Linked DNA regions of Homo sapiens: regions 1, 2 and 4 are each linked to region 3. The links are contacts of gene promoters, found by promoter capture Hi-C in human tissues and cell types (Jung and others, 2019). All regions are on one chromosome and are shown on one strand. Each heading gives the region's core, a stretch centred on a gene start or on the middle of the fragment in contact. The rest is flanking DNA. Distances are from core to core; before and after follow the strand shown.

Region 1 (2,700 bases), core at 39-2,538, 810 kb before region 3:
TTATCTTTCCATTTTTTTGATGATATGGAAAATGAAACTTTTTAATCTTTAAGTTTCCATTAATTGATTGCATATTATAGAACTTTTATAAATATGATTCTTACATTAGACTATGAGGTAGATATTATATCTTTGTTTTACAGAAAAGAAAATTGAGGATCAGAAAATACGCACAATTTGCAAAAACCATGGGTGAGTAGATGGCAGAGTGTAGATTTGAAAGCAGTGTTGACTTTAAGCCTGTGCCTCCAGTAACCTTCCCATGATACACAGTCACCATTCAAAGAATATTTGTTGAGGGAGTGATTTTTTTTAACAGGATTAAAAATATAAAACAAGAAGGAGGAGGTATGAGGCAGCTATCTAAATCCATCCTTCCGCTGCAGATTTTAAAGCCTTTTTCCTTTTCCATCTTGCCTGCCTAATTATTTTATCATTTTAACACATTGATATATTCAGTGACTAATCCTTTACTGCCTTGCAAATATGTTACAAGCATTTTCTAAGTCCTAGAATTGAAAAGTAATGATTACTTAAAAAAAAAAAATCAGTGACTTCATTCAGGAAAATCCACTGGTATCCAGGCCGGTGGATTCAGGCTCAGCAGTAAGGTCTTGCTTTTTGTCTTCTTTGCTTTCTTCTCTAAAACATTTTTTCAAATTGAGAAATTTTAAAAACCGTGTCTATTTATGGTGCACAATATGATGTTTTGAAATATGTGTACATTGTGGAATGGCTACATCAAGCTAATTAACATGTACATTACCTCAAACAGTTTTCATTTGTTTGTAGTGAGAATATTTAAAATCTCTGAGCAATTTTCAAGTATACGACACGTTGCTGTTAACCAGAATCACCATGTTGTAGAATGGATATATTGAACTTGTTCCTCCTGTCGAACTGAAATTTTGTATGGTTTAACAATCCCCTATTTCCCCCCCCACCTCCAGTCCTTGGTAACCACCATTCTACTCTCTGCATCTATGAGTTTGACGTCTTTATGTTCCACATCATGAGATGTTTTGAGATAATGTGGTATTGCTCTTCCTCTGCCGGCCTTATTTCACCCAGCATAATGTCCTCCAGGTTTATTCATGTTGTCAAGAATGATAGATTTTTCTTTTCTTTAAGGCTTTACTTATACCACATTTTCTTTGTCATTTATCCCTTGATGGACAGAGGTTATTCCATATCTTGGCTATTGTGAATATTGCTATAGGGAACATGGGAGTGCATATAGCTCTCTGACATCCCAATTTTTATTTTATTTCCCCTTCTTTTAAGCATTTCTTAAAGTTCTCACCTTCACCTTTTATTATTCGAAAGAATTGTGAGTAGCAGTTGTGTGGTTCAAGAGCACACTGCAGTCTTCCTTGTGTTCATCTATATTATCTGGGATATTTTGTTAGTTCTGGTCTGCAAGCTTCAAGGCTTATTGATAGTTTGAGTCACCAAATAGCCAATAAGACCTTATGGGTTATAGAATAAACATTCAGACTCCTTTTTCTGGTCTTTATCATCCTTCGTAGTATAGTCCCAGTCTATTTCTTTAAATTTATCTCCCTCTATTTCCATAAATATTCTCTATCCTAAACTCATTGCCTAATTAATTCTTGAACATGCCACATGCATTCCCATGCTGCACTTTTGCTAAAACCAATCCTCAGCCTGGAATTCCCTTTCTACTCCTCTGCCAATCCAATCCTTTTTTTGCACATCCAATTCAAGTTCCACCTCTTCCCTAAAGATAGTATTTTTTTCTTGGTGGCATTTATTTAGTTTTCAGAATATGCAATTTATATTATTATTATAGCTTTTGCTCTCAGATCTTTTTTGCTATAAAAATATTTATTTATTTTTATTGATACACCATAGCTGTACATATTTTTAGGGTACATGTAATAATTTGGTACATTCATATAATCAAATCAGGGTAATTGGGATGTCCAACATCTTAAATATTTATCTTTATGCTAGGAATGTTCAAATTATTATCTTCTAGTTATTTTGAAATGTGCAATCACTTCATGTTAATTATAATTAACCTACTGATGTATCAAACACCAGGTCTTATTTCTTCTAAGTGTGTGTTTGTACCTGATATGGTTTGGCTCTGTGTCTCTAGCCAAATCTCATGTAAAACTGCAATCCCCACAGGAAGGGCCTCATGAGAGGCAATTGAGTCATGGGGGCAGACTTCTCCCTTACTGTTCTCATGAGATCTGGTTGTTTAAAGGTGTGCAGCCCTTCCCCCTTCGCTCTCCTTCTTTTCTGCCACCATATGAAGACATGCCTGCTTCCCCTTCACCTTTCTGCCATGATTATAAGTTTCCTGAGGCCTCCCAGCCATGCCTCCTGTACAGCCTGTAGAACTGTGAGTCAATTAAACCCCCTTCCTTTATAAATTACCCAGTCTCAGGTAGTTCTTTATAGCAGTGTGAGAACGAACTAGTATAGTACCCATTAATCAACCTCTCTTCATCCCCTCAGCTCCCTACCCTCTTTTATCATTTATACTTTAGTCTCGCAAGTAGTTCTCTATTTTTGTCTCCTTGGTCATTCTCAACAGTACTTTTCAGACAGTACTCTGAAAAAAAAATCACCCAGAAAAGATTGTTGATATTGTTGTTGATAATGAGGATGAAACATTTGTCTTAATTTTTAAAGATGATGAACGAAAGATTGAACTTGGAGTTAAAA
Region 2 (2,700 bases), core at 184-2,683, 940 kb before region 3:
GGCCTCCCAAAGTGCTGGGATTACAGGCGTGAGCCGCCATACCCAGTCACAGTTCCAATTTTTAGCTCTTTAGAGAAAATACAACAAGGAGGACTACTTTTTAAATGGATTAGATCATTTCAGGGGAACTAATTCTGTTGTGAAATCACTTATCAGAAGACTGTCAAAATCATTTAAACAATCTATGTTTTTGAGCCCCAGGAAGCCTGGGGAATCTAGGTGGGATGCCCTGTGGCATCTAGATGCTTGCGTGTTACAACCCAGCAGATGAGCGGGGGGCACAAGGGAGAGTCCAGTTGACCTGCTGGCCAGACAATGGGATGGTGCCAGGCACTTAGGGCACTTAGCATGTGCCGATTGTATACTTATTGAAAGTGACAGGGTGCAGGGTGATAAGGAGAATGTGTTTTGGTCTCTGACTCCAAGGGCGGAGCTTGAAAACATTCATTCACTCAACACTCAGTAATTAGCTACTGAGCATATTCTGTGGGCGTGGCGTGGGGGGAGTGGGCGGGTCATGTCAGTCATTCCTCCCTGAAGCTTGCAATCAAGTTTAACCTTATTTTTCTCCAGTCCTGACTTAACTCATGGCAGAGGCAAGCCACAGTTTATGACGGAGTTCTTCTGGCAGAGGACATGATGTATGTCAGTAGAGCTGGGGCCCTCGAGTGGCCACAGTCAGAAGTAGGGCTGGGTGGTCTTCAGGCTGTGGTGGGCATATCAGCCAGGATTGTAACCAGCCTCAGCAACTCAATGATGTGAGACAATTTTTTTTTCCAATAAATGTATTTATAACACTTTAGAGAAACCTGATTTTTTAAAGGGTTGTAATGCATCACAGAATCAGTAATCCATAAAGTGTGAGGACCTTCGGTGCGTCTGGGCATGAATTTGCATCTGAAAGTCTCACCTGGGTGGTTTCTTAACAGAATTAACCTTTACGTTTTGATGTGAACCCAACCGAGGCCGTGGGGCATAGGAGGTAATAGTAGAAACATTGTTCTGGTCTGACAGTGAGACTCCTTGCCTGGTCACCACAGAATGGGGAAACCAAGTATTGTGGCAATTATCTCAATAATCCAGGTCAAGGTAAGCATCCGTCTTTTTTCAATGTTAGTTTCCGATCTGATTTACTAATTCCATATATCTTTAAGTGAAGCCCACCCTTTTCTCTTCTGGACAGGCCCAAATTCTCAGCTGACATAAATCATGACTTAACACAGATTTCAAACCCAATTTGAGAGTCGTCATTGGCTTTGCCTGCACACACCTGCTTTCTCATGCTACCTCTTGCTCTCATCAGCACCACAGAAAGAGCTTCTGTTCTAACCTCAGCTTTTTACTCAAACTATAATGGCCCTATACAAGCCACAAAGGTGGAATCTTCTTTTAAGTAGTCACGAGAGCAAAGCGTATGAAAGTGTAGAGCGAAACCATTTCCAACAGTGCTTGAGTGAACGGTTTCTTCTAAGTGTTTGGATGCTTACAAATTCCTAGAAAGGCTGACATTTCAGAATTTAACACTGTCAATTTAGATGTGGAGAAAGTGGTGGGAGGGGACTGGAGGCAACAGTTCAGCCCCACTCCCATGCATTCCACACACCTTCCCACCTATTCTCAGGTCTGAATCAGACGCCACACTAGTGGTGAGCATTGGGGGGGTTGAATTGGCCATTAAAGTCTAAGAGATCACAGGGCACAGTCAGTGTTTACTAACATGAGGGTGAGAAGAAGACTACGTTACTAGTGATTATTAATTAACAGCAATGGAGATTTATAGTATGTTGGATGCCCCACATTTAACCCTCCCAAGAGAACTGCAGGCTCCACAATAAATCTGTCAAATATCTGTTCTGCTCTGTGATAAAATTAGCACAAATGTATGCACATACAAACTACACAGTCCAGAGGTTTGGATTTTGAGGAGCACATTTTGAGGGATGGATAAGCCTTTTAAAAGCTGAATCCAAAATCCCATCATAAAAGGTAAATACAAATATAATAGGCTCAAACTTTCATAAACAGCTGGGGAAGGAGAGCTCAGAGTTGAAGGCAACCCACAGCTGACTAGAACCTCTGCAGAACCGCAAGCAAAAAGAAGTGTCTGCCTGCTGGAAAGACTCTGGGCTGGCATAGATAGAAACAAACCAAGAAGAATGAGACTCAGAGTAATTGCAAAGAATGTGGGCTTCATCCTTACTCAGCCCTGGGTTCAAAGCCCCTCTATTTATAACTCTGGAGACGTGACTTAACCTCTCCTGAGCTTCATTTAGTTTGTGAAATGGGGTAGTAATACTCCTACCTCCTAGGGTTGCTGTGGGTATTAAACAAAATAGTGTGTGTGGAAATGAATCTCTGCATTGGTCCTCAGTGGGCAATTGATAACTGATGGCAGCTGTCCTTCTAGGAAGCAATTTAAAAGCCAGGAAAGACAAAACCAAAACCAATCCAAAAACCAGCAAATACTTCCCAGAAGAAGCAAATGAACAGTTCTCTGGCCGATGGCTCTCGAAAGAAAGAAGAAAACAGAATTAGATTCCCTCCTGGGCTGCCGTTTAGGTTCTGGCCACCTGCTGAGAGAGGATACCAAGCAGGCTGAGAGAGAGAGAGAGAGAGAGAGACAGAGAGAGACAGACAGAGAGAGAGAGAGAGAGAGACAGAGAGAGAGAGAGAGACAGAGAGAGACAGACAGAGAGAGAG
Region 3 (2,700 bases), core at 81-2,580:
TCCTGGGGTAGCCAAAGAGAGTCGAAACTAAGGGGTGGAAACTTCAGCTGGGTTTTTTCCCACCTCAAAACCTTTATTTTCAGTTTTTAAAAGCCACCTTAGCCCGCCATATTGAAACTGGCACGGTTTCTAAAGACTCCTTCCCCGCAGTTGTGGCGCTTCCAAGAAAACACGAGTACGGATCAGGCTCTGGATGAGTGTCCGGCCACCGAGAATCAGCCACTTCCCACCCTCCAGGATCCCCCAGCTCCCTCCAGCCCCTTCCCACCGCCCCTGGTCAAAATCAATAAATACATCTCGCAGTTCCTACAGTTGCATTTTGGCGGATTTCTGCAAAACATACACACACATACACATACCCACGCACGCATATTAAAAAATAAACTCCAGAACCAGCTCAAGTCAGCAATTTTGAAAGGGGGTCGAATAAGAGGAGACAACCGGAAAGCCCCTAAGTGACAGGATATTACTTTAAAGAGAAAATAATGAACAAAAAGACCATCCTCGCTGGAGCACGCTCCAAAACTACTACTGCCAATTTTATTTCAGTTGCTCAGGCAAATGTTTCCAAGGGAGCGATTCCGAATGTCTGCACGATTTTTACCCCCATGCCGGTCTCCGATTCCCCGTCCTCACCATCTTTTTCTCCCACCCAAACCAAAAGAAAGGGGAGACCCCAGCGCGGAGGAGACGCGGGAGCGCGGGGTAGGTAGCAGCGGCGGCTGCGTCGCTAAAATGAGTGCAGAAACGAGGAAGGTGGGCGGCGGGAGGGGACAGGCTGCGCCCGGGGAAGGAGGACACTTTGCAACTCCGGACGGACTCCCGCACGGCTCGGCTTTTCCGAGCCCGGAGACGCAGGCGAAGGGGACCCGGGAAGCAAAAATGACAACCTGGAGCGCACAGAGGAGTTTGAAGCTTCGCTCAAGTGCAGTCGCTTTCTTCTCCTGCCCTTCTCTTTCGCTCCCCTGCACCCTCCCCAGCCTTCCCCCACCCGCCACCTCCAACCCCAGCTCCCTCAGGCTTCCTTCCTTTTTTTTTTTTTCCTTTTTTTTCCTAGGCTGGAAAAAGCCCCTGACCAGCGCACTCAACCTGCGGGCCGAAGGGCTGCTCTCCGGCCAGCCTGGGCGCCGGGGACAGCAGCCGGCGCGGCGTCCTACCTGGTGAAGTTCGTCCTGCCCTCGGCGTGGACCCAGGCCCCGGTCGCCGCCCGGGAGGGCACCGGCCTCGCTCGCTTGCTCGCTCGCCCGCCCTTGCCCGCTCGCTCCCCGCCCGCCGCCTCCCTCGCGCGCCCGCTCCGGTCCTCCGGCTCCCACTACAGCTCATTCCAATATGGCATCCTCTCTGTGCGCATGCTCGGCGCTCTTTTTTTTTTTTTTTTTTTTTTTTTTTTAAGATTTTGTGTGTGTGTGTATGTGTGTGCGTGCGCGTGCAGCGAACTCCTTCAACGACCTTTTCCAGCGCTTGCAAAATTTCTTAAGCCAATTAGCCTGCGGGACGTGATCGGCTCCTTCCCCAGCCAGCTCCGCGCCATTCCCTGCGCCTAAGCAGGCGGGCACCCCCAGGACCCTGGGACCTTCCACGCCCACGCGGCCTCCTCCCCACCGCGCTCCCCTTCCTCCTTTTTGTGAGCTCCCTCCATACATGATCTGCAGAAAGTTCCCATCGCGGGCGTTTCCGCACACCCCTCCGCAAGGACAACTGGGCAAACTCCCGTTTCCCTGGCTGCGGTTCGTGAGCTGGGTTTCCAATGGCTCAGTCGACCGTGTGCACAAACTTGCGCTTTATCCGCCGGGGATCGCTGGGAGCGGAGATAAATTCAATCCCCAGGGCAATCTTGGCCCCGCCCGCCCCACCCCATCCTGTGCTTAAATAGAGCCTTTCTTGAAGCTGCGAACATTTCCAGGCCCCTTGGGCAGGGCTGGAGGGGCCGAGGAGAGCTATTCGAGGGAAAGGTGCCCCGAGGGGCAGGAAATTAAGTTGGGGCTGCCCGGGCGAGCTGCCAGGTAGCCGTGCTCGCCACGGCGTCTCATGGGGCACCTAGCTAGTGGCGGGCCTCATAGGGCGGGAAAAGAATCGTCGCTCACACCCCAGCAAAACGTGGCCCTCGACGGTCCGTTGGAGAGCCCCGGCGGCCGTGAGCCCCGGGCAGGGCTGGACGTCTGCGGAGCCCTCGGGCACTTTGTCCCGGGCGCCTGGGGAGGAACGCGGAGCTCCCAGGGCCTTAGGTGCAACGGCTGCGCAGAGCCCAAACGAAATGTCCCCAGTGCGGAAAAGCCGGTGACGCCCTGGTAGCAAGACCAAGAGCTTCCGAAGAACGCTGCGCCCTTAACTAGGGGGCCTCGCAGAGATGCCTGTGTGGGCCTGCATTGTATATTTCTGCGAAATAGCGAATGGACACGTTTGCTCAGGGTTTTTATGGTTGCCAAAGGGGGTAAAATTACCCAGTCCCCCAAATCTGTGTCCCATGAATCCCTCTCATAGTACCCCTCTCCAGGGGGCCAAGAGGTCCTCCAGGTCCCCGTGGGTTCGCAGCTCCACCCGCCCTTCCTCGCCCTGCATCCCTAAGGAGAGGTGTCCGCTCTGAAGGGCTAGGGGCCAGCCATGGAGTGAGGGGACCGGGGCTGACCACGCGCGGCACAGACAGAGGTCCTCAGGCGGGCCCTCTCCTGGACGGTGGGGCCGGAGCTGATCTAGAAGAAA
Region 4 (2,700 bases), core at 98-2,597, 720 kb before region 3:
AAAGGGCCCCTGGCTGAATGCCAAGTATAAAACAGAAACAGAGTCCTCAAGGACAAGTTGTCAGGAGCCACAAGAAGGGGGTCCTTCCAGAAGCTGTGGGAATCCAGGGCAGCGGGAAAAAGCCTTACAGGGTCAGGGGTAAGAGCTAGTGGGGAACCTTCATCAGCCTGGAGCAGGTCCATAAAGCTGGAATAAAAAGTGAGAAAAGAAATACCTTACAGGTGAGGCTTGCACCTGAGGTTGCATGTCTGCAGGCTGATCATATAAAAGATTTATTTCTTCATGTTGTACCTTTGAAGATGATCAGATTATGTTTGCTAACCATCGTGAGCTTCTTGGATGAAAAACGCAAGATGAACCTTGGATAAGTATCCACACACACAGCAATCAGCCAGCAGGTAGGATTCGGTCTCTGTGCTGAGTCATTTCCGTATTACATTGAAATAAGTAATACAGTTCTCTTGGCAGTATTTTTGTTTTTAAAGTAAGTTGGGATGAAAGCTGGCGCCTAGGCTATTTATCCTCATCTGAAATGTGTGCAAAACAACACTGAGAAAATACTCTTTGGTGTAGACAGGAGGAGTCCTTAATAAAGTATTTATTTGCACCTGATTTCTCCTTGTTTTTACTGGGTTCATTTAATTTGATAGATCATCTACGCCTCAGTATAATGCCATGGAAATCTAATGAAGATGCATAGTGCTGAGTGCATTTTCTGTACCGATTCAGCCACTGTGGTTGGGATAACCATTGAGTTTGTCTTAGTCGGCTGAGACTGGCAGAACAAGACACACAGACCAGGCAGCTCCAACAGCAGACATTTATTTCTTGCCGTTCTGGAAGCTGGAAGTCCAAGATCAAGGTGCCAGAGCTGGTTTCTCCTGAGGGTTCTTTCTGTGGCTTGCAGAAGGCCGTCTTCTCGCTCTGGCCTCCCACAGCCTTCCTCTGTGTATGCACATGCCAGGCGTCTCTTCCCCTCCTGATAAGGACACCTGTCCTATTGGATTAGGGCCTACCCTTAGGCTCTCATTTAATCTTAATTATCTTGTTAAAAGCCCTGTCTTCAAATACAGTTACATTGGGATTTAGGGCTTCAACATGTGAATCTTCAGGGGACTCCATTCTTTGCAGGGCTGTTCACAAACGTTCCATTTCTTCTCCTGGGCATTTGGCAAGATTGCACCATCCCTGCTCTTTTTGGACTTGGTTGTGGATGACTTACTTTGTTCAATGTATGTGATGAAGAGACATGAAACTGACTAGGAAGAAGCTTTAAAATCCAGGGCACGAATCCCATTGATAATGGTTTGGCTCTGTGTCCTCACCCAAATCTCATCTCAAATTGTAATTCCAAGGTGTGGAGGGAGGGAGGTGATTGGATCGTGGGACCACTTTCCCCCCATGCTGTTCTCGTGATAGTGAGTGACTTCTCACAAGATCTGATGGTTTTATAAGGGGCTCTTCCACCTTCGTTTCCTCCTCTCTCTCACCTGCTGCCATGTGAGAGATGCCTGCATCCCCTTCTGTCATGACTGTAAGTTTCCTGATGTCTTCCCAGCCATGCGGAACTGTGAGTCAATTAAACCTCTTTCATTTATAAATTACCAACTCTTGGGTATTTCTTTATAGCAGTGTGAGAACGGACTAATACACCCGCATTCTCTTCCCCTGAAAACAGTAGTACTAGGCCGGGTGCGGTGGCTCATGCCTGTAATCCCAGCACTTTGGGAGGGCGAGGTGGGTGGATCACCTGAGGTCAGGAATTTGAGACCAGCCTGGCCAACATGGTGAAATCCTGTCTCTACTAAAAATACAAAAATTAGCCAGGCATGGTGGCGCATGCCTGTAATCCCAGCTACTCGGGGGAGCTGAGGCAGGAGAATCGCTTGAACCTTGGAGGCAGAGCTTGCAGTGAGCCAAGATCGCGCTACTGCACTCTGACTGGGCTGGGCTGCAGAGTGAGACTCTGTCTCGAAATTAAAACAAACAAACAAACAAACAAACAAACAAACAAAAAAAACAGTAGTTCTGGAGGTACACATAAATAAGATGAAATCTTCGGTGGAGCACTGCTGGCTGGTGCTGACCGTTTAATGTGAATGCAACATTTTAAATATGTATACATATATATGTACATATATACATATATGTATAGCTGTGTCTCTGCGTATATATGTGTGTATACATATATATGTCTACACAAACACTTTTTTTTTTTTTGAGATGGAGTCTCACTCTGTCGCCCAGGCTGGAGTGCAGTGGCACAATCTTGGCTCACTGCAACCTCCACCTCCCAGGTTCAAGTGATTTTCCCACCTGAGCCTCCTGAATAGTTGGGATTACAGGCATGCACCACCACACCCCGCTACTTTTTGTAGTTTTAGTAATACATGGTCAGGCTGGTCTTGAACTCCTGACCTCGTGATCCGCCTGCCTCGGCCTCCCAAAGTGCTGGGATTACAGGTGTGAGCCACTGCGCCCGGCCTACACACACACTTTTAAGAATGTTTAGCCATTGATATTTTGCGGTTGCTTTTTGCTTGTGCATAACCTAGCCCATCCTGACTTGCACAATGGTCAAGCATTCATTTGCTGTGACACGTGGATTGATAAAACCCAGCATTCACCTTTACATTCACCCTTCCTCCTATGTCAAAATATAGTATACTATAGTAGTTATTTTGGCAAATAATTTTCTTG

The links. Contacts are between HindIII fragments. The study calls those that stand out against the background at their distance.
Region 1: a fragment that was not itself captured here is called in contact with the fragment with the promoter of SFMBT2 in region 3 in 1 of the 25 tissues and cell types used here (hippocampus).
Region 2: a fragment that was not itself captured here is called in contact with the fragment with the promoter of SFMBT2 in region 3 in 1 of the 25 tissues and cell types used here (spleen).
Region 4: a contact is called between a fragment that was not itself captured here and the fragment with the promoter of SFMBT2 in region 3, in 2 of the 25 tissues and cell types used here (dorsolateral prefrontal cortex and spleen).

The regions. Positions count from the first base shown.
Region 1 is chr10:6,596,703-6,599,402 of GRCh38, forward strand. No RefSeq gene overlaps it. Among named protein-coding and RNA genes, the nearest start is that of PRKCQ-AS1, 18 kb to the left of the region's middle. The HindIII fragment of the contact is 3,616 bases long and covers 1-2,700 here.
Region 2 is chr10:6,464,700-6,467,399 of GRCh38, forward strand. All of the region lies in intron 12 of PRKCQ (protein kinase C theta), which reads right to left. Among named protein-coding and RNA genes, the nearest start is that of PRKCQ, 110 kb to the right of the region's middle. The HindIII fragment of the contact is 8,825 bases long and covers 1-2,700 here.
Region 3 is chr10:7,409,704-7,412,403 of GRCh38, forward strand. SFMBT2 (Scm like with four mbt domains 2) reads right to left here and starts at 1,331. Exons shown (of 21, transcript NM_001387889.1): 1 at 1,158-1,331. RefSeq lists a silencer at 1,205-1,344 and enhancers at 1,580-2,500, 2,501-2,700. The HindIII fragment of the contact is 7,941 bases long and covers 169-2,700 here.
Region 4 is chr10:6,688,839-6,691,538 of GRCh38, forward strand. No RefSeq gene overlaps it. Among named protein-coding and RNA genes, the nearest start is that of LINP1, 47 kb to the right of the region's middle. The HindIII fragment of the contact is 4,159 bases long and covers 1-2,700 here.